Regions from separate parts of the Homo sapiens genome. Here region 2 is linked to region 1. Evidence: promoter capture Hi-C in 16 types of primary human blood cells and fetal thymus (Javierre and others, 2016). All regions are on one chromosome and are shown on one strand. The core of a region is centred on a gene start or on the middle of the fragment in contact, and the rest is flanking DNA. Distances in the headings are between cores, read along the strand shown.

The links. The method cuts DNA at HindIII sites, captures the fragments that hold promoters and counts their contacts. A CHiCAGO score of 5 or more calls a contact.
Region 2: a fragment that was not itself captured here is called in contact with the fragment with the promoter of SLC6A18 in region 1 in 4 of 17 cell types (erythroblasts, fetal thymus, M2 macrophages and 1 more); the score reaches 8.0 in erythroblasts.

What each region holds. Positions count from the first base shown.
Region 1 is chr5:1,223,864-1,226,939 of GRCh38, reverse strand. SLC6A18 (solute carrier family 6 member 18) reads right to left here and starts at 1,559. Exons shown (of 12, transcript NM_182632.3): 1 at 1,303-1,559. The coding sequence starts at 1,462. SLC6A19 (solute carrier family 6 member 19) reads right to left here. Exons shown (of 12, transcript NM_001003841.3): 12 at 1,829-3,076. RefSeq lists an enhancer at 623-1,165. The HindIII fragment of the contact is 4,471 bases long and covers 1-3,076 here.
Region 2 is chr5:930,652-933,868 of GRCh38, reverse strand. No RefSeq gene overlaps it. Among named protein-coding and RNA genes, the nearest start is that of TRIP13, 39 kb to the right of the region's middle. The HindIII fragment of the contact is 2,638 bases long and covers 182-2,819 here.

The DNA.
Region 1 (3,076 bases), core at 310-2,809:
GGAAAGGCATCGGTGGGCAAGGCATTGGCGAACAAGGCGTTGGTGGGTAAAGCGTTGGCCGGCATTTCCAGCTCTGCGTGAAGCCTGCTGCCCCCACAACCTTGCATGCTCTGGTGACTCTTAGCAGATCGAGCCGCAGCACAGGCAGCGAGGGCCCCGGGAGCCAGGGACGCCTCTGCCCTTGGGCTTTGGTGCTTTCAGAAATGCCTTCAAAGGGACTCTCATGATGAGAAGATCCAAGGCCCAATGCACCCTCTCCAGCCCCAAAGCCCCAAAGAGACCCCAGTGCCCCGAGGGTGGCAGTGACGGGTGTTTCTTTTTGTTTTTTCCATTTGTGCGCATTTCCTGCATTTTCTGCCTGTTGAGAATCTTTTCTTAAGCAGGAGGAAAAACACTTTAAAGGAGTAACCTTATAACAAGGGATAGTTGTGCGGGGCTCTCAGGGAAGGAGCTGAGGGCCCGGGGAACAGGCTGACCAAGCAGCCCGGCCTGGCCTGAGGAGGACCCTGCGGCCTGGGAAGCCCCTGCCCGTGTTGCCTGGGGAAGACCTGGGTGTCCATGCGTGATGTTGTACGTCGGCTCCCTGAGAGCAGTGATTCATGCCTGTCCCTACATCCTGTGTCGCCACATGGAGAGCAGAGTGTGACCCCTGCATGAAGAGAAGCAGGCACAGGGTGAGGGGAGGCTCGAGGTGCGTGGGAGCCTATTTCAGTCACCAATGCACTTCTGGGGGTGGTGAGTCCAAGGTCACTAAAGTCACCCAGACAGTTCTGAACATCCTGGCACCCCCCACAGGGCTCTCCCAGAGAACCAAAGCCAGGGAGGCGAGGGGTGGGCCCCCAAATTCCTGCAAAGAACCTCGGAGAAGGGCACCTGAGCACATGTCTGGACACACCAAGGCTGTGGTGAGGAAACCCAGAGCGGATTGTGTGTTCTTTAAAGAACTGACGACATTCAGATGGAAGAGCGCTCACTGTTTGTAGGGTGTGTGTGTCGGGCAGGGCGGCCCATTCAACCTGACGCCTGGCAGGAAGCTGCCCTGAGGTCCCGGAAGACCATAGTGGACCCCGAGGGGACTGGATCCTCCGTGCTGTGGGCAGTGGTGAAGCTGCCCTGAGGTCCCAGAAGACTGCAGGTGGGCCCTGAGGGGACTGACTCTGCCGTGGGCAATGGTGCACCCTGGTTTCCAGGAGGAGTGACTCTGCCCAAGCACTGGGGATGCGTGGCAGGCGCCTGGCAGGTCAGGGTGGAGACGGCCTCCCCTGCTTAGGGGTCTGCCCCAGGACGCAGGTGGGTGCTTACCTCCTCCATAGGTCTGGCACAGGTATGGGAACCGCCAAATGTTCCCCAGTCCCACGGCAAACCCAGTGCAGCTCAGGAGGTACTGGGCCTTGTTGTCCCACTTGGGCCTCTCATCCCCGAGGTCGCAGGCGGCCGGGTCCGGTTCTGGGGCATGAGCCATGGTGACTGAGTGCCCCAGGCTTCAGGGCAAGGGTGGTGCCTCACTCCACACCCAGCACTAGAGAGCCGTCTCCAGCCTCTGCCGACGTTTGGAAACCACAAGCAGCCCCACTGCAGTTGTATTTATTCATTTCTTTAAAGGAAAACCAGTGGAGTGCCGTTAATGGGTAACTCAGGTCCAGGCCCTGGCTCTGACGCCAGGGTCCTTCCCTGGCACCCACGTCCTCTGCTCCTTCTCGCATGCTCTGTGTTCCAGGCAAACGCCGGGCCTGGCACCACCCCCAGCACCATGAGGACCGTTTGCAAGGACAGCCTCAAGTTTTTTTGTTGCAGACACCAGGATTCCCAAGACTGAGGCATATTTTAATCGTTTTAAATTTCTTATGTTTTATTTAACCATTTGATCTTGAGATACTTATAGATTGTCACTCTGTCACTGTCAGAAACAACTCAGATCAGATCGCATGCACCCGAAGCCCGGATTCCCGCAGGGATCCTCTCAGCTGCTCTTGGGAGGCCGGGGGCTGCCCTCACACCCACTGCTGCCCTCGGGCCGCTGGGCAGGACAGGGTGACAGGCACCCACCGTGCGTGGGGGCAGAGGGCTGAGTCCTCTCCTGTGCTGGGGGCACCCCTGTCCATGGGTGGAGGGTTGATGAGTTGACGCCGGGTGAGTTCAGCTCTAAGGAGCTCCCCACAGTGCTCCCTGGACTCTGGGGCTCCTCCTTGCAGATGCTCCCGCCACGGACAGGCCAAGGGCCCCCAGGCCCGCAATTGCCCCATTCCACTGGACACTGCACCCCTCAACCGTGTGGCCACAACTCCAAATCCATGAGTCCCAGGGCAGGGGCCCAGGTGGACACATTTTTGGAAGGTTCTTATTTGAGTGAGAGGAAGTGTGAGGGAAGAAGATGAGAAGAGCTGGTTGGTCCCCATTGTGAGGCCACAGGCCTGGGCCATGGCCTCTTCGGAGCAAGCCCCCAAAGCCAGACCCCCCAGGAGGAGGCAGGAGCTGGACCTGCCGTCCCCACCATCCCGTCTGAGGTCACTGGCTCACTCATCCCTCTACGTCTGGACAACAGTAACTTCTAGGGTGAGCATACTCAATAGAAGGGATTTATTTAGAAATGTACACTTTATGCCCATAAAGCCTGCATTTCTACCACATTTACAGAGACATTGAAACCTATGAAACAACGCATGAATCAGGAGATGTAGATGAGATGGGAGCTCCCGCCCAGGGTCCTATGGCAGGCACACCAGGGTACACCAATGGATGCCAGGGCACATCAGTGCACACCTGTGCATGCCAGGGTACACCAATGCACACCTGTGCACGCCTGGCAGGGCCTCCTGGGCAGATGCCACAGGGCAGCATATTAATGGGGCACTGATGGAAATTTTCTCGATCCAGGGCCAAAGAGCAGGAAAAGATGAGGTGAGACCCTGTTGAAGCCATCAGCAGGCGAGCCCCTCGGTGGCATCACAGCCGGGGGCAGAGGCTGTGATATGTCCCCCCACCTCTGCTGCTGTGGAGTCTTGCGCATCCCAGGGCCCAGTGACAGTCAGCAGGGTGAAAGGGGCTGGTAGGGGACTCAGTGTGTGCAGTCACTGCT
Region 2 (3,217 bases), core at 251-2,750, 290 kb after region 1:
CCCCCATTATATCTTGGAAGTAACTATTTTTTATTTTACAGGATCATAGCTGGAAGGGACTTATCTTGTCTCAGATAAGACTTTGGACTGTGGAGATTTCAGTTAATGCTAAAATGAGTTAAGACTCAGGGACTGTTGAGAAGGGATAATTGCATTTTGCAATGTGAGAAGGACGTAAGCTTTGGGAAGGGCCAGGGGTCAAATTTTGTGGTTTAGATTTGTGTACCCACCCAAATCTCATGTTGAATTGGTGAGAGGCCTGGTGGGAGGTGACTGAATCCAGGGGGCTGACTTCCCCCTTGCTGTTCTCATGATAGTGAGTTTTCATGAGATCTGAAAGTTTTAAAGTGTGTGGTACTTCCCCCGTCACTCTCTCTCTCCTGCTCCACCATAGGAAAATGTGCGTTGCTTCCCTTTCACCTTCCACCATGATTATAAGTTTCCTGAGGCCTCCCAGTCATGCTTCCTGTTAAGCCTGCAGAACTGAGTCAATTAAATCTTCTTTCTTCATAAATTACCCAGTCTCTGATAGTTCTTTATAGCAGTGTGAAGACAGACTAATATAATTAGAAAGTACACAGAGACCTAACTTTAGGTTCATTTCCAGAAGAGGGCCTGACCTGCTGCTCAGGGGTTAGTATTTCTTGCTTAGTCTTGTCTTTCTCATGGAGACACAGGCATACACACTTTCTCCATCTTCACATCCAGCTTCACTAATGGGTCATACTTTCCTTTCATTCCAAAATTTAAGCCAAATAAAAACTAGCCAGAACATTGGGCAATTGTTCTCCAAAAGGGAAATAAAAGAAGTCATTTATCTCAGCAGAAAGTATAACAACTCTGTTATGAGTTTATGGGTGAACCCAGGAATTGCCTTCCCTTTGGATCACCCCTTATGGCTCTAGTTCTGCCCAGAAACAGAAGGTTCAAGCCCTGGCCAACCAAAGCCAAGAGCTGCCCTCAGTCCTCATTCCTTGCTGGAAAACGGGCAGCCATATCCTTTTTCACAGAGGTGCAGAGGTCAAGTTAGTCACAGCTCAGCTCAGGATGTGGTTCTGAGGAGGCGACTGACAGGTGGCAATCGTCACTGATGCCTTGTTGCTGTTCTTCTCCAGTGACCATCGTCAGCCTCTGATTTATTCCCAGGCACCAGCAGCCAGGCTTCAGTCATCAGCCTTGCCCAGCTGAACACAGCTCCTGCTCTTGGACAGAGGAGGGTGGGTTTCAGGAGGGCAGCCACTCAGTCCCGCAGCTCGGGCCCAGGCTACCATGCTTCCTCTGGGCAGACCACTCTGTCCCTCAGTGAGCAGAGGGCTGGCATGTTAATGTCCCACTTGGAATTACTGAATTGACTCCCATCATCCTTGTATTCCTCTCTCTGTTCCTTCCCAGGACATAGCAATGCCTGAAGGGAGGAGCCTGTCCATGCCATCTGCCCCTCAGACACCAGCTCCGGCGGCGTGGATGCTGCTGCCTTCCAGGTGGCTGGGAGCCCGCTCTCACGTTTGGGGGTTAATGTCTGTGGAAAGGGAGGGTGCCCAGTTCACATGGGATTTTGCTCCCCTGACACAGAACGCAAGGATGCTGTGAGCTGAGAGTGAAGTCATTGTCCACCTCCCAGGGGCCACACTGCAGGTCCAAGTACAGAAAAGAGAGTGTCTTAAAGGAAGCCTTTGACTCTCTTTGGCTGAGTTTATGGAAAGGAAAATGAATCAAGCCCAAAATGGCCAGTAATGGCAGGGTCATTATTCCTTAAATGAAGCTCCACCTGCCTTTCCAACGAGGCAAGAACCAAATGCGTCCTTTGAAAGGAGGGCTCAGAGGTGCGGGTGCAGAACCCCATGCTCTCTTGAAGCGGTGTGGCCTGTCCCCAAACTGAGAGTCCCCATCTTCAAAACGGAGAGTTTGGTCACTTGAATTTTGTTGACATTTCTTACCTTGGGAAGCAGCTGGCTTCGTGCTGTTCGAAGTTGACCTCCTTTGCTCCAGATGGGAAGTGCCCCCAAAGCTGGCATGAACAGCTGTCACTCCCTAAGAAACTGCAGCTTTTTCTGAGGGCGGGAGCAGGTGCTCACCGATTTCCTTCTGTGGCGTGATCCTGAAGGAGCTAAGAGCCCACCACCCCAAAGGCATTGCTCTGGCTTTAAGCTGATCGCCATTCCATGTCTTAAAAGCAGGAGACGAAATTCTCATGTGAAAGATGCCCTCCCCATACGTTTGGGAAAGCATCTTTCTTATCAACAGTGGGAGGCCCAGACCCAGAGAGATTTCAGCATAGCCTCCTTAAAATCACTCTTCTTGGCAGCCTCCGCACACAATGTATTTTTCACAGCTTACTACTCCACCTCCAATTCAGGGTGCACAAAAGTTCTTTGAAAAGGAATGTAGAGGAAAGACTATTCCTATGAACAGTTTGTGAAGTGGGAGATGCTGCCTTCAGCGTAAAACCAGGATGCTTTCCAGAGAACAAAGAGAGGGTCCAGCTTTTATACTGAAAGTTCTCACATAGGTTCGCTTATGCAAATGAAAAATTCAAACTTCCTGTGTTCTGATGGGTTGGTTCAGGGGAGCTCTGGAAGTCCCAAAGTTTAACAGAGGTATGGGATTTCAAGGAACTCCGGGTACCCGTGTGACCTCTAGTCAGCAAACGGTCACTGGGCTCTATGAGGATTTAGGGCCGGTGAGCCACTAGAGATCCACCCATCCACTTCTTGCAAGTCCTGTTTGCTCACATGGGTGTGAGTGTCCAACTCTGTGGCTTTAGGGCATTCCTTCCATGGGAGGCTCTCCCACCATATAGAGCTTCCTTTAAATAAGCTTCCGTGCTTTCCTCCTGTTGATCTTTCTGCGTCAGTTAAATTCTCCGGTGCAGCCTGAGAGTCTGTACACAGGTGATCATATTCACAGGTTAATGTGCTCACAGGTGAATGTACGGGGAGGTGAATGTGTTCACAGGTGAATGTACTGGGATTAAATGTGCTCACAGGTGAATGAATGTACTGGGAGGGGAATCTGTCACAGGTGAATGTACTGGAAGGTGAAGGTGCTCACAGGTGAATGTACTGGGAGATGAAGGTACTCACAGGTGAATGTACTGGGAGGTGAAGGTACTCACAGTGAATGTACGAGTAGGTTATGTGCTCACAGGCGAATGTACTGGGAGGTGAAGGTGCTCACAGGTGAATGTACCAGTAGGTTATGTACTCACAGGTGAATG